Linked DNA regions of Homo sapiens: all the other regions are linked to region 4. Evidence: promoter capture Hi-C in 16 types of primary human blood cells and fetal thymus (Javierre and others, 2016). All regions are on one chromosome and are shown on one strand. The core of a region is centred on a gene start or on the middle of the fragment in contact, and the rest is flanking DNA. Distances in the headings are between cores, read along the strand shown.

Region 1 (3,958 bases), core at 1,314-3,813, 240 kb after region 4:
GAGAAGGTGGAACAGCTGGAGCTCTCACATGCTTCTAGGGGGACTTTACAATGGTACATCCATATTGGGAAATAGTTTGGTAGTTTCTTAAAAAGCTAGACATGCACCTACCATGTGACTCAGCCATTCCATCCTTAGGTATTTAATCAAGGGAAATGAAAGCATACGTCCACCGACCAGGCGCAGTGGCTCACGCCTGTAATCCCAGCACTTTGGGAGGCCGAGGCGGGCAGATCATGAGGTCAGGAGATCGAGACCGTCCTGGCTAACACGGTGAAACTCCGTCTGTACTAAAAATACAAAAAATTAGCCGAGCGTGGTTGCAGGCGCCTGTAGTCCCAGCTACTCAAGAGGCTGAGGCAGGAGAATGGCCTTAACCCGGGAGGTGGAGCTTGCAGTGAGCCGAGATCCCACCACTGCACTCCAGCCTGGGCGACAGAGCAAGACTCCGTCTCAAAAAAAAAAAAAAAAAAAAGGTATGTCCACCAGGGTCTGGTACAGGAATATTTTGAGCAATTTAGCCTGTGGTTTTACATAGTATATTCTAAACTTGTTTCCCATGCTTTTGTGTGTGTGTGAGAGACAGAGTCTCACTCTGTCGCTCAGGCTGGAGTGCAGTGGCGCGATCTCGGCTCACTATAACCTCTGCTGCCCGGGTTCAAGCGATTCTTCTGCCTCAGCCTCCTGAATAGCTGAGATTACATGCGCCTGCCACTGCACCTGGCTAATTTTTGTATTTTTAGTAGAGACGGGGTTTCACCATCTTGGCCAGGCTGGTCTTGAACTCCTGACCCCGTGATCTACCCACCTCAGCCTCCCAAAGTGCTGGGATTACAGGTGTGAGCCACTACACCTGGCTTTTTTTTTTTTCTTCCCTGAGACAGGGTCTTGCTCTGTTGCCCAGGCTGGAGTGTAGTAACACAATCACAGCTCACTGCAACCTCTGACTCCCAGGCTATAAATCCTCCCACCTCAGCCTCCCAAGCAGTTGGGACTGCAGGCATGTACCACCATGCCCAGCTGATTTTTCCTTTTTTTTTTCTTTGGTAGAGACGGGGTTTCGCCATGTTGCCCCCAGGCTGGTCTTGAACCTCTGGGCTCAAGTGATCCACCCGCCTCAGCCTCCCAAAGTGCTGGCATTAGAGGCGTGAGCCACCATACCTGGCCCAAATTCAACATTTTAAGTACATGAAGTGTATTGTACATCAACTATATCTCATTGAAGCTATGGTAGACCAAAAACCTGACACCTAATAGGCCCTCAGAATACATTTGTTGAAAGGAAGAATGACTATCACTGGTGATCAGGAAGATGCTTCTAGAGGAGAAGATCTAGGACGTCAGATTGTGCTGGGCCTCAAAGGTCAGGCAGAATAATTTAAATGTTGTCCAGGGAAGCCATTTTGGAGTTTTATGATCACAGCCATAATACAATGAAAGCAGTGGTTTAAGAAAACACTTCTGGCAGCAGAGTGCAGGACAGATTGAAAAGGGATGCAAAAAAGAACACTCAAAAGGTGTCACTATGATCTACACATGTATTGATAGGGGCCTGGCCAAAATGATGGTCTAGGCTTGGAAAGGAAGGGACAATATGAAAGGTAATCCAAAGATAGAAATGTCAAGACTTGACTCATTAATGTAGGAGAAGGGGTAAGTACCACTATGGGCTGGACATTGATTTAGCAGTTTGACAAAATTATTCCTGTATTTTTGAAGAAGACTACATATCTCTAAAATATAGGGAATGAAGGAGAGCTTTTTGCCCTTCAAAGTAAACCTATGGCCCAGGCGTGGTGGCTCACCCCTGTGAAAAGAAAGAGGAAAGAAGAAAAGAAACCTATGAAGACTTCAGGAAAGATTACTTTGGATGTACTTCAGTTTCTACTCTGATACTTAGAGCTGTGATTGAATTTGGTACTTCAGTACTTTCCATTTCAATTCTTTTTTCTTTTTTCTTTCTTTTTTTTTTTTTTTTGAGATGGAGTCTCGCTCTGTCGCCAGGCTGGAGTGCAGTGGCACAATCTCGGCTCACTGCAGCCTCCACCTCCCGAGTTCTAGCGATTCTTCTGCCTCAGCCTCTGGAGTAGCTGGGACTACAGGTGCCCGCCACCACACCCAGCTAATTTTTGTATTTTTAGTAGAGACGGGATTTCACCGTGTTGGCCAAGATGGTCTCCATGTGTTGACCTCGTTATTCGCCCGCCTCAGCCTCCCGAAGTGCTGGGATTACAGGTGTGAGCCACCACGCCCGACCTCTCAATTCTTTTTTCAAACCGTTAAACTATTGATGGTACAGACTGGAGGCCAGGATCCTTAAATACTATCCAAGTAGTTTTCCAGAAACTAAGCTAACCCCTCTTACCTTGACTTCCTTAGGAGTGGATTTTCTCAACCTGAAAATCAGAATTTACTGTATTCAGCCCTCCATGTCCTTAGTAGCCGACTGAAACAGGGAGAACACAGCCAGCCTTTGGAGGAACTACTCAGGTGAGTCATAACTACATAGCCAAGATTGTTGTCCCAAGAAACTCCTAGGAACAGGATTGGCAACTTTCTTTAAAATAACCTGGGTGTCTTTCAGTAGTTGTAAAGGAAATTATTTTCAGCTACTCTCCTCATATATGAGCTTTCTCATCTATGTATTCTGATAAATCCTGAAGTATTAGAAACCTTGAATAATCATGCTAAATCTTCATGAATGCATCAGCCCATAAACTCAGCCTTTTCAAGTAATAATGATGAAAACATTGACCATCTGTAATCAACTCTTGATTATCCAGGGACCTACTGTCTCCCAGCAGATTTGGGTAATTAGGCAGCAGCTAGTTATCACTGATAGCCTGTTTCTTTCCCCTTGTCTTGTAGGAAGACCTTATGTGGCTGAGGGGTAGGCAGTGGACAAGGGAGGTGACATGATCTCAGGGGCATGGCTTTCGGCCCCCTCCCCCTTCAGTCAGAGTGACTTGGTCTTTCTCTCACTTCCCTTGGTAACCTAGACCATCACTGGGTCAGCAGTCAGTGCTTATCATCCCTGTCTATAGGTCAGGACCTTATATCTTCTTTTTTTTTTCTTTGAGAGAGAGTCTCACTTTGTCACCCAGGCTGGAGTGATCCCAGCTCACTGCACCCTCCACCTCCTGGGCTCAAGTGATTGTACTGCCTCAGCCTCCCAAGACGCTGGGATTACAGGCGCATGCTGACACACCCTACTAATTTTTATATTTTTGTAGAGATGTTTTCGACATGTGGCCAGGCTGGTCTCTAATTCCTGAGCTCAGGTGATCTGCCTGTCTCAGCCTAGCAAAGTGCTAGGATTACAGGCATAAGTCACCATGCCCGGCCTGTGAACCCAGATTTTACAAATTATTTTCAGTGTATTGCCTAAGGCTTTAAAGAGCAGATAATTTATCTAGGGTTGTACATATTAGCGTGGTGCTTGGGTTTCTCAGCATACATGACCCCTTCAAGGCCAACATTCCATCAGTGGGGCTGTCTTCTGCCCTGGCTTTTTCCATACAAAGGTATGGTTTTCTACCAAGATGCTTGAAGAGGGTTGCTACTAAAGCACCTGAAAATAAGGAGGATTCTGATTAGGCCGTCAAACACTGAAAGGGACTTGGGCACGTCATGTGGATTTAAATATATCTGTGACACATAGGATACTATTGCATTTGTTTGTTTTTCTTGTCTCCTTACAGCCAGAGCGTCCATTACTTGCAGAATTTCCATCAAAGCATTCCCAGTTTCCAGTGTGCTCTTTATCTCATCAGACTTTTGATGGTTATTTTGGAGAAATCAACAGCTTCTGCTCAGAACAAAGAAAAAATTGGTGATGGGCCTAGATCCTTTTTTTTTTTTTTTTTTTAATGAATAGGACTAATATCTCACACTTACAAACTTTGGGCTTCCCAGGACATTTTTACATGTAAATCCCCACATAACCTTGGATAGGCCC
Region 2 (4,090 bases), core at 926-3,425, 180 kb before region 4:
GCTACAACTCAACCTGGGAAAATCAGATGTAGGCATTTAGGGTTCAGAGGGCTGGTATGAGCTAAGTGAGAGTCGGTTGCAGCAGATGGTGCTGACCAGATATGTGACATCGGCCACGGGCCAAGTAAGTGGGAGGAAGGCCACTGTGGCAGTACTAAAGGTGCTCGGTTTTATATTCTTGTGGAGTCTAGTTAGGCAATTAATTGGTACCAAGGTGCCTTTTGATTTCATAGAGAAACTGGGTGAGGGGAAGGCAGCACACTCTGGTTCTCTGTGAGCTTGTGTGCCTAGGGCTGCCTGGTGGGTTGCTGCCACCCTACGGGCACTTTGCTTTTTTTTTTTTCCCCCAGACGGAGTCTCGCCCTTCGCCCAGGCTGGAGTGCAATGGCGTGATGTTGGCTCACTGCAAACTCTGCCTCCCGGGTTCAAGCAGTTCTCCTGCCTCAGCCTCCTGAGTAGCTGGGATTACAGGCACGCGCCACCACGCCAGGCTAATTTTTTTGTATTTTTAGTAGAGATGGGGTTTCACCATGTTGGCCAGGCTGGTTTTGAACTCCCAACCTCAAGTGATCTGCCCACCTTGGCCTCCCAAAGTGCTAGGATTACAGGTGTGAGCCACCACGCCTGGCCCCTAGATATATTTTAACTAAGAATTCGCAGTATTTTAAAGACTGTGTTTTTATTAACCCTAACAGCATCCAGATACATTTAAAGAGGTACCACAAGTATGTGGGAGTCACTGATTTCTTCCTTCTGGGATAATATTTGGGTGCATGTGTACAAGAGGAGCTGTACGCAGATTCCTAGAAGGATTAGGATGTGGAAGCAATTAAATTCCCTCTAGGAGTTGGTCTGAAAGCTCAACACTTTTAAGGAAGGAACATGAGTATTTTTCCTTCCTTCTACTTGGTTACTCTGTGTAGCTGGGAAAGCTTCCTGCTCTAACTTTCCTGCCTCCTGTTTCTGTTGCTACCAGAAGCTCTGACTGGCTGGGGTGAGCTTTGCTAAAGGTTGGTAGGTGAGTTTATGAGAGCGGACCCTTATTTTAGGGAAGCGTGATTTGATATGGGTATGACTTGCTGGAGCTAACTTCTAAACCTCACTCTCAAGTTCTAGAAGCTCACTTACCAAGCCCAGTGCATTAACTACTACACGTCCCTGTGTCACACATGGCTTCTCTTATGCCTCCTTTGCTCTGTGCGCTGTTGGCCATATGGACTGTGAAAGCAGAGGCCTAGAGCCATGTGGACCAAGAAACGTCATCTCATTCTGCCCTCTAAAACAGCACTCCCCAACCTTTTTGGCACCAGGGACTGGTTTCATGGAAAACAATTTTTCCACGGCAGGGTGGAGAAAATGGTTTCAGATGAAACTGTTCCACCTCAGATCATGAGGCATTAGATTCTCTGCAACCCCAGTCCCTCACATGCGGAGTTCACAATAGGGTTCGAGCTCCTATGAGAATATAATGCCGCCACTGATGATCTGACAGGAGGTGGAAGTCAGACGGTAATGCTCACTTGCCTGCTGCTCACCTCCTGGTTCCTAATGGGGCATGGACTCGTACTGATCTGGGGCTCAGGGCCTGGGGACTGCTTGCTCTAAAAGATCACAAAAATACATATTCAGAGTTATGCAAAAAATAGATAGTCACAAAAATGGTCCTGTGATTTCCAGAGAGGGTCCCTAGGGCACCAGGTCTTATCCTGGGAGTTAAAAATTGGACACCCTAGACATAATATCCAGTTTTCTGTGTATATTTCTGAATTTTGTATATGTCTTCAGTTTAGCTCACTTTTTTTTTATCTTAAAGGTTCAGAAATCAGAGTGATTTAAGTTTTAATACCTATAATTAGCACTTTTTTTTTTTCCTGAAAAACTTAATATATCTCATGCCTGTGATCCCGGCACTTTGGGAGGCCGAGGTGGGCGGATCGCCTGAGGTCAGGAGTTTGAGGCCAGCCTGGCCAACGTGGTGAAACCCCGTCTCTACCAAAAATAAAAAAATTACCCAGGTGTGGTGGCTCACACCTGTAGTCACAGCATACTCGGGAGGCTGAGACAGGAGAATTGCTTGAACCCGGGAGGCAGAGGCTGTGGTGAGCCAAGATTGCGCCACTGCACTCTAGCCTGGGCAACAACAGTGAAACTCCGTCTCAAAAAAATAGATAGATAGACAGACAGATGATAGATGATATAAAATTTAGGAATGACATTTAATTTCAAGCAAGCATTATGTACACAGATCTAGTATGGGGGTCTGTGTGAATAAACACATATACACAAAGTGCCCACTTCAAAGTCAGCTTGACCTGCTTCTCTTGCCTGTGTGTTAGGTTTGAGAGTACCGTACAGGTGAGCAAGTTGCAAGACCTCATCCACCGCAGCAAGATGGCCCGGTGCAGAGGACGGTTTGTCTGCCCAGTAATCCTGTTCAAGGGCAAGGTAAGGCCCATACCATAGCTTCATGCTCCACGACTCTCTTCTGGGGTAGCTGACTTACTGCAAAGTATAGGGTCTTTTTTTCCCTCAACATTAGTAGCCAAGCATTGGGTGGTTACTGGGTGTTGTGGGAAGCAGTCCAGAGAAACAGACCAATTCTGACTGAAGGATGGTTCTAGGTAGAGAAGGGATGGTCACACCAGCATACCCCACCCCGTGTTCCAGAGCCAGACTGCCTAGGTTCAGATCCTGACTCTTATTTCCTGCCTATGCAGAGCCTCCTTTTCCTCTCCTATAAATTAAGAATAATAATCACCTATTTCAAAGGTTTGTGGATTAGATTAAATCAAATGAGTTCCTATATTGTTTTTCCATTCTTTCAATTATATAATTCACCAAGTATTTATTGTATATTATGTGCCAGACACTGCTTCAGGCCTTAAAATACATCACCATGTAAAGCAGACAAAAATCTTTATTGTCATGGAGCTTATATTCTAAGGACTTTTGTTAATTTAATTTGGCTCCCCAGTTTGGTTTCATTTTTATCTATCTTTTGGTGTACGGGATGTGCCCATTTCATTGCAGATGAAACAGAGGCTGAGAGTGACTAAGTAACTTCCCTAAGTAGAGGGTACACATCAGGGCAGAGGATGGAGGGGATTGAATGAAGACGGCTGAACGCTGAGCAGGGAGGTGGCTCTGTGTTTGCTAGGAGAGCCATTGTGACGTTTGAGCGGGGAAATTCCGAATGCAAGTAGCAACGGTGCGAAAATTGGTCCAAGAAGAGTGGACTGACATACAGAGAGCCTCAGAGGGGAAGGGAGCGGAATTCAGTCTATTCATTCCTTTAGCTGGTATCTGAGTGTCTCAGTGGTCAAGGGCAGGGCAATGGGGAGAGTCTGACTGTTGTCTCAGTCCCTGGTGTGCCTTTTTTGTAAATTGGGAAAGAGGAGGAAGGAAGGGAGACTCTGCCAAAAGCTTTCTTCTTCAGATCAGTTTTAGGGAAAAGTATGTATGGAAGTTAGGTCCTAGAAATTGATCTTCTTAAAGCTGTTGCCACTTTGGAAAGTTTTCATGTTCCCGAAAGTTATTGCAACTTTTTTTTTTTTGAGATGGAGTCTCTCTCTTTTTTTTTTTTTTTTTTTTTTTTTTGAGGCAGCAGACATCTTGCTCTGCTGCCCAGGCTGGAGTGCAGTGGTGCGATCTCAGCTCACTGCAAGCTCCGCCTCCCGGGTTCACGCCATTCTCCTGCCTTAGCCTCCCGAGTAGCTGGGACTACAGGCACCCGCCACCACGCCCGGCTAATTTTTTGCATTTTCAGTAGAGACGGGGCTTCACCGTGTTAGCCAGGATTGTCTCGATCTCCTGACCTTGTGATCCTCCTGCCTCGGCCTCCCAAAGTGTTGGGATTACAGGCGTGAGCCACCGCGCACGGCCTGGAGTCTCTTCTGTTGCCAGGCTGGAGTGCAGTGGCCCAAGCTTGGCTCACTGCAACCTCCACCTCCCGGGTTCAAGCAATTCTCCTGCCTCAGCCTCCCGAGTAGCTGGGATTACAGGAGCATGTCACCACACCCAGCTAATTTTTGTATTTTTAGTAGAGACGGGGTTTCGCCATGGTGGCCAGGCTGCTCTCAAACTGCTGACC
Region 3 (4,172 bases), core at 1,548-4,047, 190 kb after region 4:
TTTCTCTTGAGTATCCAAAGTCCATTATATCATTCTTGTTGTTGTTGTTGTTGTTGTTTGAGACGGAGTCTCACTCTGTCACCCAGGCTGGAGTGCAGTGGCACAATCTCGGCTCACTGCAACCTCCACCTCCCAGGTTCAAGCGATTTTCCAGCCTCAGTCTCCCGAGTAGCTGGGATTACAGGCGCCAGCCACCATGCCCGGCTGATTTTTTTGTATCTTTAGTAGAGACGGGGTTTCACCATGCTGGCCAGGGGCTGTCTGGAACTCCTGACCTCAAGTGATCCATCCATCTCGGCCTCCCAAAGTGCAAGGATTACAGGCTTGAGCCACCACGCCTGGCCCATTATATCATTTTTTTTTTTTTTTTTGAGATGGAGTTTGGCTCTTGTTGCCCAGTCTGGAGTGCAGTGGCACAATCTTGGCTCACTGCAACCTCCGCCTCCCGGGTTCAAGCGATTCTCCTGGCTCAGCCGCCCAAGTAGCTGGGATTACATGTACATGCCATCATGCCTGGCTAATTTTTGTATTTTTAGTAGAGAAGGGGTTTCACCGTGTTAGTCAGGCTGGTCTCAAACTCCTGACCTCCGGTAATCCACCCACCTCAGCCTCCCAAAGTGCTGGGATATCGGACGTGAGCCACCATGCCTGGCCTCATTATGTCATTCTTAATGCCTTTGCATTCTCATAGCTTAGCTTCTACTGACTTGTGGATTGAAGAGTTATTTCTTACTAGGTTATTGGAAGTTAAGTCTGATTCTTGGTCAATTCAACCGAAATAGATGAAAATGCTTGCTGAACAGTGATTATAATGATAAAAATTGTGAGTCCAAAACCATGTAAGGAATAGGCTTGATTTAGAAACGGAAACTGTGGGCCGGGCACAGTGGCTCACACCTGTAATCCCAGCACTTTGGGAGGCCAAGGCGGGCAGATCACCTGAGGTCAGGAGTTCAAGATCAGCCTGGCCAACATAGTGAAACCCCATCTCTACTAAAAATACAAAAATTAGCTGGGCGTGGTGTCACGTGTCTGTAATCTCAGCTACTCGGGAGGCTGAGGCAGGGGAATTGCTTGAACCCCGGAGGTGGAGGTTGCAGTGAGCTGAGATCACGCCACTGCCCTTCAGCCGGGGCAACAGAGCAAGACTCTTATCTCAAAAAAAAAAGGAAGTTGTGAAGCTCCAATGGTTGATTAGTAATGGGGTTCTAGAATTAGAATATAGAGAAATTGGTAGAAAATTTGAAACTGAAGAGGAATAATATAGGAAATTACTGAAAGTAAATGTTATACTTTGGAAATACTGTTCTCCAAAAGAGAAGAGACTTCTGAATTAAGTTTATTAGAAGGGATTTGGGTTCTCTTGGTCAGTAATGAACAAACTGAAACTTTCATTCTGGTTGTGTTTTACATTTCATTCAGGAAGGTAGTGGTCTTTGTCTCATTCTGATTAAGGCTTTATTAGAAAGAGGGAAAGGAGGCCAGGCACGGTGGCTCACGCCTGTAATCCCAGCACTTTGGGTGGCCAAGGCGGGCAGATCACGAGGTCAGGAGATTGAGACCATCTTGGCTAACATGGTGAAACCCCGTCTCTACTAAAAATACAAAAAATTAGCCGGGCGTGGTGGTGTGCACCTGTAGTCCCAGCTACTGGGAGGCTGAGGCAGGAGAATGGCATGAACCCGGGAGGCGGAGCTTGCAGTGAGCCAAGATCGCGCCACTGCACTCCAGCCTGGGCGACAGAGCAAGACTCCATTTCAAAAAAAAAAAAAAAAGAAAGAGGGAGAGGAATTGAAGAAGGAAAAAACAAAATGGCATCATTAAGGGAGAAGAGTAAATTTTAAACTTGGCTTCAAGTACCTGTTTGTTTCTTGTTTCTTATTTCTTTTTATGGGTTGAAAGTCTTGGGATTAAACCTATCTGAGCATTGTAGTCAAAGATATGATACAAAGAACCTTCCCCATTCTGTCTACCCTTTATTCAGATCATTGAGTCTCAAATTTGGTGTGTATCAGGATTATTATCTGAAGAACATAAAAAATTCGGATTCCTAGGTCCCATTCCCAAGATTTTGACTCAGTAACTCTGGTATATGGCATGGAATATGCCTTTTTTTTCCTTTGAGACAGAGTGTCACTCTGTTGCTCAGGCAGGAGTGAAGTGGCGCGATCTGGGCTCACTGCAACCTCTGCCTCCCGGGTTCAAGTGATTCTCCTCCTCAGCCTCCCGAGTAGTTGGTATTACAGGCGCACGCCACCACACCCAGTTAATTTTGTATTTTTAGTAGAGATGGGGTTTCACCACGTTAGCCAGGCTGGTCTTGAACTCCTGACCTCAGGTAATCAGCCTGCCTCGGCCTCCCAAAGTGCTGGGATTACAGGCGTGAGCCACTGTGCTGGGTCGGAAATATGCATTTTAATAAGCTTCCCAGGGATTCCAGTACAGTGGTTTGCAGGCAACAGCTTGAGAGACACTGGCTAGTTTAGTATTTGGGTGGAAAACATTTCTGTGGGTTATTCTTGTTAGGCACTTATTTGTTTGAATTTATTTTTTTAGAGATGGGGATTTCACTCTGTCACCCAGGCTGGAGTGCAGTGGTAATATCATAGCTCACTATAGCCTCAACCTCCTGGGCTCAAGTTATTCTTCCGCCTTAGCCTCCGAAGTAGCTGGGACTACAGGTGTGCGTCTCCTCACCTAACTAGTTTGTGTGTGGAGGGGGGGAATGGGGGTGAAGGGGGGGAGATGGGGGGGTGGTCTCACTTTGTTGCCCAGGCTGGTCTTGAACTCCTGGCTTCAAGTGATCCTCCTGCCTTGGCCTCCTAATTTGCTGGGATTACCACATGAGCCACCTTGCCTGGCCAGAAATGGCACATTTTGAATTCTTCAAATGAAAATAGGTGAAAATAATTCTATTTGTTTGTTTTGGAAGCCACTATTGCTGAAGACAGTTTATTTCACTACAGCATCAATCCTAGTATAATTTTTAAGGACACATCAGTTTTCCTCTCATGATTATTATTCCTGGGTTTAAGTTTTAATTTTTCCTTTACTATTTGCCATATTCTTGAAAATTTTTCTATTTTCAGAAACCAGGAAGCAACCACTTTCCAAAAAGACAAAGAAATCTCATATTGCTAATGAAGTTGAAGAAAATGACAGCATCTTTGTAAAGCTTCTTAAGATATCAGGAATTATTCTTAAAACGGGAGAGAGTCAGAATCAACTAGGTAATATTTTAATCTAATTTTATTCTCTGGGTTTAATGAAATAGTTCAGGACTGAATCATGGGTTTTCTAAATAGAGAGGCAATGAAGATTAGAAATCAGAGGGCCATCCATCTTGAGACAAAGTTGAAATTGCTTTTTAGAAAATGGTACAGTCAGGCCGGGCGCGGTGGCTCACGTTTATCATCCCAGCACTTTGGGAGGCTCGAGGCAGGCGGATTGCCTGAGCTCAGGAATTTGCGACCGGCCTGGGCAACACGTCTCTACTAAAATATAAAAAATTAGCCGGGCATGGTGGCATGTGCCTGTAGTCCCAGCTGCTTGGGCGCCTGAGTCAGGAGAATTGCTTGAACCCGGGAGGTGAAAGTTGCAGTGAGTCAAGATCGCACCACTGCACTCCAGCCTGGGCGACAAGAGTGAGACTCCATTTCCAAAAAACAAAAATGGAAAAAGAAAATGGTACAGTCTTTGGTCCTCATTACTATGTCTTAAGTAAAGCATTTCTCATCCTTTTATTAGAAAAAATATTATATATTATTTATTTTGTGTTTTCTTATGAAAAAATAAATATCCAGAAAGCAGCTGTATCAGTGTCAGAATAATTTCAGAAGAAAATTTATAAAGCCATATAAGATTCTGTTTTGGGGGAGCAGATTATTCTATCTTGCTAAGGTTATGGCAGGTCTTTTTTAGAACACTTAGTGGCTATCTGCTATCAAAGCTAAGTCTTTTTTTTTTTTTTTTTTTTGAGACGGAGTCTTGCTCTGTCGCCCAGGCTGGAGTGCAGTGGCGCGATCTCTGCTCACTGCAAGCTCCACCTCCCAGGTTCACACCATTCTGCCTCAGCTTCCCAAGTAGCTGGGACTACAGGCGCCCGCCACCATGCCTGACTAATTTTTTGTATTTTTAGTAGAGACGGAGTTTCACCGTGTTAGCCAGGATGG
Region 4 (3,999 bases), core at 824-3,323:
ACAGATGGATGCCTGTACTCCTAGCTTCCTGTCACCCCTACCACTTACTTCCCAGATGCTCGGACAACCTGAAGCTCCTGCTCCCTGAGCCCTAGGGACTGGCTCAGCTCTGGCAGCACTGAGAACAACGTCAGCTCTCCTGGTTTTCCTGGAAAGTAAGAAAGAAAAATTACAAGAGGCCAAAGCTTCATGCCTTCACTTTTCCCTCCCTCAGTCACGAAACCCCCTTCCGCTGCATTCCCTTCCCACATCCCCGGCCCATACCTGTCACTGGTAGACCCTGTGGCTTGTTCAACGTCACTAGAGGTCCTGAAACATACATCACACGAACATCAGCAAAAGCAACGGTAACCCTTTATGCAGCACTAAAGAGTTTCCAGAGCACTTTCTCACGCATCTTAGCACATGTCCCCATCATGACTCTCAGACATGAGTTAACTACCCCACACCAAATTCAACTTCTTTCTGTTCCTCTGCCACCTCAGAGCCTCGGCACTTGCTGTTTCCTGTCCCCAAATTTCCCAGGTCTGGCTCCCTATCATCTTGGCTCAAATGTCACATCACGGAGAGGTCTGAATCTCCAATCTAATGTCTGCCTTCCTCCTGCAGTTCCTCACCATCATAACACCCTGTTTTAGTTTATGCATAGCACTTACCACTAGTAACTTGTTCATTTATTTTCTGACATCCATTTCTCCCGTTAGAGAGAAATCCATTTCTCCCCTGAGAGCAGAAACCATATCTATCTTTTTCAGCACTGTATAGCCTGCCTAGAACAGTGCCTGGAACATAGCATATGTTCAAGAAATAGTTGAGAAAAGGAATAAATCACTGAATAGAGAGTGGGGTTCAGAGAAATTCAGTTATTTTCCTAAAGCCGCACAGCAAGCTGATCACAGAGCCTAGGTATGTCTGACTCCAAAGCCTGTGTTTTGTCCGTCGATAAATAATCATTATTTATTTATTTATTTATTTAGACTGAGTCTTGCTCTGTCATCCCAGGCTGGAGCGCAGTAGCACGATGTCGGCTCACTGCAACCTCTGCTATCCGGGTTCAAGTGACTCTCCTGCCTCAGCCTCCCGAGTAGCTGGGATTACAGGCGGACGCCGCCACACCTGGCTAATTTTTGTGTTTTTAGTAGAGACGGGGTTTCACCATGTTGGCCAGGCTAGTCTCGAACTCCTGACCTCAGGTGATCCGCCCGCGTCAGCACCCTAAAGTGCCGGGATTACAGGCGTGAGCCACCGCGGCCAATAAACAATAATCTAGTATAGCAACTCCCGTAACTGAGCGCCGGCTATGTGCAAGGCTCGGTAGTTATTTGCATCTTCTCCCCACTCTTAACCCTACTGCATCATGGCAGTAGGGTTAAAAGCGGGGAGAGGGTGCAAATTAGGTGGCTTGTCCCAGCTCATGCTGCTAGTGGGAGGCAGAAGCAGGGCTGATCCCGTGGCTTCAATGGAGAGCCCAACTGCACGCCGAGGCAGTCCCCTCCCGGTCCTTGTGCGGCCGTGCCTCTCACCCCTCACCTTTCCGGTCCACCACGGCTGCCCGCAGCGCATCAACCAGCTCCTCCCGACTGAGGTTTTTTGGCAGCAGCCCCGCGAAGGGCTGGTCCCCGAGGGGCCCCGACCGTTGGCAGGAGCCGCGGGGTTGCCTCTGATGCCTGGACAAGGAGGGAGAAGCAATGGGAGTCATTCCATCCCGAGGTGCCACCCATTCCTATCTCCGGACGCCTCTTCCCAAATCCTGCGGCCTCTGACAAATGCCTCACAATGTCTGGGCTGACCTCGAAAATTCAGGTACGACCGGTCCCATTCTACAGCGGAGGGCACCGAGGCTCAGAGAGGCCAACGGGGCTGTTTTCGGGTAACATCTACCTGATCCAGATCCCGCACGTGCCTTCCCCCTGCCCTAGCCTCCGTCCCGCATGAGAGAGGGGGTACTTAATCACCGGGCTTCGGTGCCAAAGCCTGCGTCCTCGGGCACTGGGCGGACACCCAGGCCCCGCCGCCAGCCACTCCAGAACCGGCCCAAAACACGGCGGCCGTCCATCTCCCGAGCCAGGACAGCGCGCATGTGCGTCCAGAGGGGCAGACCCGCGCTCCAGCCAGCGCGCTGATTGGTCAGCTGGAGTGTCAATCGGAATGGTGACCGGGCGGGACTCAGAGCCTGAGGAGGCGGGGCTTTTCCTCCGCCCAGGAAGGAAATGCAGAAATGCCTTCCTATGCTTTTAGGGAGAGCGCTGTAGCAGAAGAATTTGATCTGATCAAAAAACCTGTCTTAGCAAAAAACCTGAAGCCGCCTTTGCAAAAATTATATTACAAAATTATGACAGCGAAAGAGATCTGATCTAACCAACCCGCAGCTTGCCTTTAACCTCTAAACGGTCCTTGGTCATTCCTGGGCTTGGGCCAAGCTAACTTTGGGAGAAATTAGTTCGTAGTCTAAATGATAATTGCCCTTCCCCCGAACTAAACTGGCTTCATAGAGTTAATGAAAGGCCACCAGGTTAGGAGTAGTAGAGGGACCTGAATTCTGCTAAGGGTTAGAGGTAACTGATTACCAGCGGTTATTCCGGAGGTCACAGTGTTTGCAGCTTCCCCAGCTCACGATTGTCCAACCTGAGATTGGCCTTTGGAGATGTCTTTCCAGGCTTTTGCATTTCTGACGGCCGGATCACCCCACCCGGACCCTCAACTCTTGGCTCTACTAGTCCTGTGGCCCCTCGAAGTCAGGAGATCGAGACCATCCTGGCTAACACGGTGAAACCACGTCTCCACCAAAAATACAAAAAAATTAGCCGGGCGTGGTGGCGGGCGCCTGTAGTCCCAGCTACTCGGGAGGCTGAGGCAGGAGAATGGCGTGAACCCGGGAGGCGGAGTTTGCAGTGAGCCGAGATCGTGCCACTGCACTCCAGCCTGGGCGACGAGCGAGACTCCGTCTCAAAAAAAAAAAAAAAAGAAAAAAGAAAAAGAAAGTAGAAGAACACAGAAAAAAAAGAATAATATAATGACTGCCCACATTCCTACCATCAGAATTAGTCATTGTGAAACAATATATATATGTATAGGTTTCCTGTTTTTCTTGTTTAAGAAATGAAAGGGATAAAAGTAAATTCCCCTTTACTGCGTGCTTCCAGTTTTCACTCCCTCCCCAGTCTCCACTTTGAGTTTGGTGTGAACATTTTCCTAATGTGTTTTGGTTTTTGTTTTTTGGAGACAGAGTCTCGCTCTGTCACCCAGGCTAGAGTGCAGTGGCCCGATCTCGACTCACTGCAACTTCCACCTCCCGGGTTCAAGCGATTCCCCTGCCTTTGCCTCCTGAGTAGCTGGAATTACAGGTGCGGTGCCCGCCACCACACCCGGCTAATTTTTTGTATTTTAGTGACGGGGTTTCACCATGTCGCCCAGGCTGGTCTCGAACTCCTGAGCTCAGGCAATCCGCCCGCCTTGGCCTCCCAAAGTGCTAGGATTACAGACGTGAGCCACTGTGCCCGGCCACTAATGTGTTTTTTTGCTTGCTCTGTCATCCAGGCTGGAGTGCAGTGGCACAATCACAGCTCACTGCAGCCTCAACCTCCCAGGCTCAAACGATCCTCCCACTTCAGTCTCCTGAATAGCTGGGACTACAGGTGTGCACCACCATACCTAGCTTTTTTTTTTTTTTTTTTTTTTTTTAAAGATATGGGGTCTCACGATGTTGCCCAGGCTGGTCTCAAACTCCTGGGCTCAAGATAAGAAAATAAAAATAACAAAATAATTTTTAAAAAATCAAACTCCTGGGTTTAAGGGATTCACCCACCTACTTCGGCCTCCCAGAGTGCTGGGATTAAAGGCCGCACGGGGCCTTTGACAGACACTTCTTTTTTTTTTTCCTTCGAGATGGAGTCTCACTCTGTCACCCGGGCTGGAGTTCAGTGGCACGATCTTGGCTCACTGCAACCTCTGCCTCCTGGGTTCAAGCAATTCTCCTGCCCCAGCCTCCCAAGTAGCTGA
Region 5 (4,157 bases), core at 830-3,329, 150 kb after region 4:
CATCAAAAAGCCAGATGATTGGCCGGGCACGGTGGCTCACGCCTATAATCCCAGCACTTTGGGAGGCTGAGGCAGGCGGATCATCTGAGGTCAGGAGTTTGAGACCAGCCTGGCCAATGTAGCGAAACCCCGTCTCTACTAAAAATACAAAAAAAAAATTAGCCTGGCCTGGTGGCACACGCCACTGCACTCCAGCCTGGGCGACAGTGCAAGACTCCATCTCAAAAGATAAAAAGCCAGATGATTGAGTTCCTTAGGTGCTGATTGGTTGCCTTTAAAGATTTTTCTTTGGTTGGAATCTGTTTTGTGGGATTTTTGTTAGTTTTGTTATCCAATTTTGGGATGACTATCTTAAAAGCTTTCATGATGATGAATAAAGCAATGAAAAAAATGAATAACTTTTTGTGGTGAGAAATATCAAAGTACTCCAAACACACTGTTTTTGGTTTTAGATAAACACAAATTTAACACCTTGACTGCCTGCATACCTATTTTTACGTATTTGTAATCATTTTATAAATATAAATATAATTTGTATTCTTTTTTCTCAACATTTTCTTCTCCATGTGCTTCTGCTTTGTCTTCATTGTTATCTTTAATGACTGTATTCTGGTCTAATGACTCTAAATTTTGGTGTCCTAAGAAGTGGAGCATTCAGTTAAGAGAAGTAGTAAAATTTGTTTTTTCTTTTTTGTCCTGCTTGCCTTTTTAACTTTTTTTTTTTTTTTTTCCTGGAAGCATAGACTCAGATTGCCCTGAATACACTCCCAGTGTTTTCTCTTTTTTTTTTGAGACAGAGTCTTGCTCTGTCACCCAGGCTGGAGTGCAGGCAGTGGCGCAATCTCAGCTCACTGCAAGCTCCACCTCCTGGGTTCATGCCATTCTTCTACCTCAGCCTCCCGAGTAGCTGGGACTACAGGCGCCTGCCACCACGCCCGGCTAATTTTTTGTATTTTTAGTAGAGATGGGGTTTCACGTTGTTAGCCAGGATGGTCTGGATCTCCTGACCTTATGATCCACCTCAGCCTCCCAAAGTCCTGGGATTACAGGTGTGAGCCACCGTGCCGGGCCTTTCTCTTTTTTTTTTTTTTTTTTTTTTTTTAAGAGACTAAGTCTTGCTCTGTCACCGAAGGTGGAGTGCGGTGACAGCATCATAGTTCATTGCAGTCTCAAACACCCGGGTTCAAGCGATCCCCCCACCTCAGTCTTTGGAGTAGCTGGGACTACAGGCAAGCACCACCAGGCCTGGCTAATTCTGTTAGTTAGTTAGTTAGTTATTTTGAGAGAGTTTCGCTCTTTTGCCTAGGCTATAGTGAAGTGCCACAATCTCGGTTCACTGCAACCTCTGGCCCCTGGGTTGAAGCAAATCTCCTGCCTCAGCCTCCCTAGTAGCTGGGATTATAGGTGCCTGCCACCATGCCTGGCTAATTTTTGTATTTTTAGCAGAGATGGGATTTCACCATATTGGCCAGGCTAGTCTCAAACTCCTGACTCAGGTGATCCACCCACCTGCCTCAGCCTCCCAAAGTGCTAGGATTACAGGTGTGAGCCACCACGCCTGGCCAATTCTTTTATTTATTTATTTATTTATTTATTTTTTGAGACGGAGTCTCGCTGTCGCCCAGGCTGTAGTGCAGTGGCACGATCTCGGCTCACTGCAAGCTCCGCCTCCCGGGTTCACGCCATTCTCCTGCCTCGGCCTCCTGAGTAGTTGGGACTATAGGCGCCCACCACCTCGCCTGGCTAATTTTTTGTATTTTTAGTAGAGACGGGGTTTCACCATGTTAGCCAGGATGGTCTCGATCTCCTGACCTCGTGATCTGCCCGCCTTGGCCTCCCAAAGTGCTGGGATTACAGGTGTGAGCCACCGCGCCCGGCCATTCTTTTATTTTTTATAGAGATGAGGTCTTGCTGTGTTTCCCAGGCTGGTCTCAAATTTTTAGCTTCAAGTGATCCTCCTGCTTGGGCCTCCCAAAGTGCTGGGATTATAGGCATGAGCCACTGCACCCAGCCCTCATATTTTTCTTTTTTAAACTTAGGTAAACAAGCTAATTGTGGAGAAAAATCCACAAGGAATCTACAGATGTAAAAAATACAGTTTTTCTCTGCTCTCTTTCCCATTCCTCAGGGGTAATCATCCTTCCAAATTTTTTCTCTTCATATACAAGCTGTAATTGTGTGCAAGTACAGGTATACTCTTATGCCTACACATATATATGTTTATATATTGTTTTTACAAAAGCAGAATCTTAACTATGATTATGGGTGGTGGTGGTGGTGTTTAAAGAGACAGGGTCTCACTCTGTCGCCAGGCTGGAGTGCAGTGGCACAATCGTAGCTCACTGTTGCCTCCACCTCCTGGGCTCAATGATCCTCCCTCCTCAGCCTCCCAAAGCAGTGGGATTATAGGCATGAGCCTTCATGCCCAGCCTGATTATCCTTTTGCAGGCTGCTGTTTTTTCCACTTCATATCAGGAATGTCTTTCCTCTGTCAAAAAATAGAGTATGGCTCAGCAGTCCCTAACCTTTTTGGCACCAGGGACTGGTTTCATGGAAGACAGTTTTTCCACAGACCGTTTCGGGGCATGATTTCAGGATGAAACTGTTCAACTTTAGATCATCAGGCACTACTTAGATTCTCATAAGGAATGTGCAGCCTAGATCCTGCGCATGTGCAGTTCACAATGGGGTTTGCGCTCCCGTGAGAATCTAATGCAGCCGCTAATCTGACAGGAGGCGGATCTCAGTGGTAATGACCACTTGACCACCCCTCACCTCCTGCTGTGCAGCTTGGTTCCTAGCAGACCACAGACTCCGTGATCCAGGAGTTGGGGACCCCTGATCTACCTTTTTCTTTTTTTTTTAAATTTTGTAATTAAAAAGTCTTTTTTAGACAGAGTCTCGCTGTGTCACCCAGGCTGGAGTGCAGTGGCACAATCTCGGCTCATTGCAACCTGCACCTCCCGGGTTCGAGTCGTTGACCTGCCTCAGCCTCCTGAGTAGCTGGGATTGCAGGCAGTTGCCACCACGACTGGCCAATTTTTTTTTGTATTTTTTAGTAGAAATGGGGTTTCACCGTGTTGGCCAGGCTGGTCTCGAACTCCTAACCTCAGGTGATATGTGTACCTCAGCCTCCCAAAGTACTGGGATTACAGGTGTGAGCCCCCACGCCCAGCCTGGCTTATCCTTTTTGATGACTATAATATTTCAAAAATTAAAATTACTCCATCATAATTTACTGAACCCTTTCCAGATTGATGGGCATTTATAGTCTTTCCAACTTTTCACAAAGTAATTTTTCTAGTAATAGTGAAAATACATACTGGAGTTGGCAAGTGATTGAATCTTTTAATAAATGTGAAGATGTTCAAAGTTACTTCTGTAGTAGTATCACTTTAATGTATATTGGAATGTATTCCTAAGAGATACCAGTGGTTAATAGTTGTGGCACTTTATTTCTTTAAAAAATATTTCTGGGTTTTGTGAAAAGTGTAGATACTACCAGGGGAGTGTGTGGAACAAATGAGCATCATCCATTGTGTGTTTTAATTAGAGGAAAAGCTGCTGTTTCATTGTAGCAAATGTACTGATTGGTTAACTGTTTTTCTATTATTGCATATTTATTGACCTGGTGATGCTTTTCATCATCTATAGCACCAATACTCAGACAAAGAAGTACATTGAAAGGGTGCTAAGAAATAAGATTCGATCAGGCTGCATTCAAGAACAGCTGCTCCAGAGTACATTCTCTGTTCATTACTTAGTAAGTGTCAGAGACTATTGATTTTTAATCTAAAACAGAAAGCTTTACAGCTCTCATGTAAAATTTCATCTTATTTCAGTCCATTGTTCAAACCCATTGAAATTTTTGAATTTTATTTTTGCATTAACATTTTAATTGTCTATCTCAATGCAGTTTGCAATTATGACAAACTAGCCTTTCGTATCCTATTCTAAGTAGCTTATAAAAACCTTGAGGGGAATAGGACCAGGCTGTAGAAACTAGTAGAAACGTAAATATGGACCTATTTGAACTATCACTCTTTGGCCATTCAAAACTGGATTTTAGGTGATAATTCCTCTGGAAATGTAAATTATTCAAACTGGAATTTATAAACTGGGAATAATGTTTTGCTGGCTGAACGTTCAGTATATTA

What was found. Contacts are between HindIII fragments. The CHiCAGO score rates a contact against its expected background, and 5 or more counts as called.
Region 1: a fragment that was not itself captured here is called in contact with the fragment with the promoter of RPUSD3 in region 4 in 1 of 17 cell types (activated CD4 T cells); the score reaches 5.0 in activated CD4 T cells.
Region 2: a fragment that was not itself captured here is called in contact with the fragment with the promoter of RPUSD3 in region 4 in 1 of 17 cell types (neutrophils); the score reaches 5.6 in neutrophils.
Region 3: a fragment that was not itself captured here is called in contact with the fragment with the promoter of RPUSD3 in region 4 in 8 of 17 cell types (activated CD4 T cells, megakaryocytes, erythroblasts and 5 more); the score reaches 10.3 in activated CD4 T cells.
Region 5: a contact is called between a fragment that was not itself captured here and the fragment with the promoter of RPUSD3 in region 4, in 2 of 17 cell types (activated CD4 T cells and total CD8 T cells). The highest score is 5.7, in activated CD4 T cells.

The regions. Positions count from the first base shown.
Region 1 is chr3:10,083,433-10,087,390 of GRCh38, forward strand. It overlaps FANCD2 (FA complementation group D2), which reads left to right. Exons shown (of 44, transcript NM_001018115.3): 33 at 2,380-2,490; 34 at 3,702-3,832. It also overlaps a transcript of FANCD2OS not described here. Among named protein-coding and RNA genes, the nearest start is that of FANCD2OS, 23 kb to the right of the region's middle. The HindIII fragment of the contact is 7,979 bases long and covers 1-3,958 here.
Region 2 is chr3:9,659,931-9,664,020 of GRCh38, forward strand. It overlaps MTMR14 (myotubularin related protein 14), which reads left to right. Exons shown (of 19, transcript NM_001077525.3): 3 at 2,337-2,445. Among named protein-coding and RNA genes, the nearest start is that of MTMR14, 12 kb to the left of the region's middle. The HindIII fragment of the contact is 2,491 bases long and covers 931-3,421 here.
Region 3 is chr3:10,029,743-10,033,914 of GRCh38, forward strand. FANCD2 (FA complementation group D2) reads left to right here. Exons shown (of 44, transcript NM_001018115.3): 3 at 3,090-3,230. Among named protein-coding and RNA genes, the nearest start is that of FANCD2, 5.4 kb to the left of the region's middle. The HindIII fragment of the contact is 752 bases long and covers 2,422-3,173 here.
Region 4 is chr3:9,841,935-9,845,933 of GRCh38, forward strand. RPUSD3 (RNA pseudouridine synthase D3) reads right to left here and starts at 2,074. Exons shown (of 9, transcript NM_173659.5): 1 at 1,956-2,074; 2 at 1,531-1,667; 3 at 265-309; 4 at 49-148. The coding sequence starts at 2,056. RefSeq lists an enhancer at 1,937-2,016. The HindIII fragment of the contact is 7,859 bases long and covers 184-3,999 here.
Region 5 is chr3:9,989,249-9,993,405 of GRCh38, forward strand. All of the region lies in intron 2 of EMC3-AS1 (EMC3 antisense RNA 1), which reads left to right. It also overlaps a transcript of EMC3 not described here and the pseudogene FANCD2P1. Among named protein-coding and RNA genes, the nearest start is that of EMC3-AS1, 4.4 kb to the left of the region's middle. The HindIII fragment of the contact is 3,447 bases long and covers 357-3,803 here.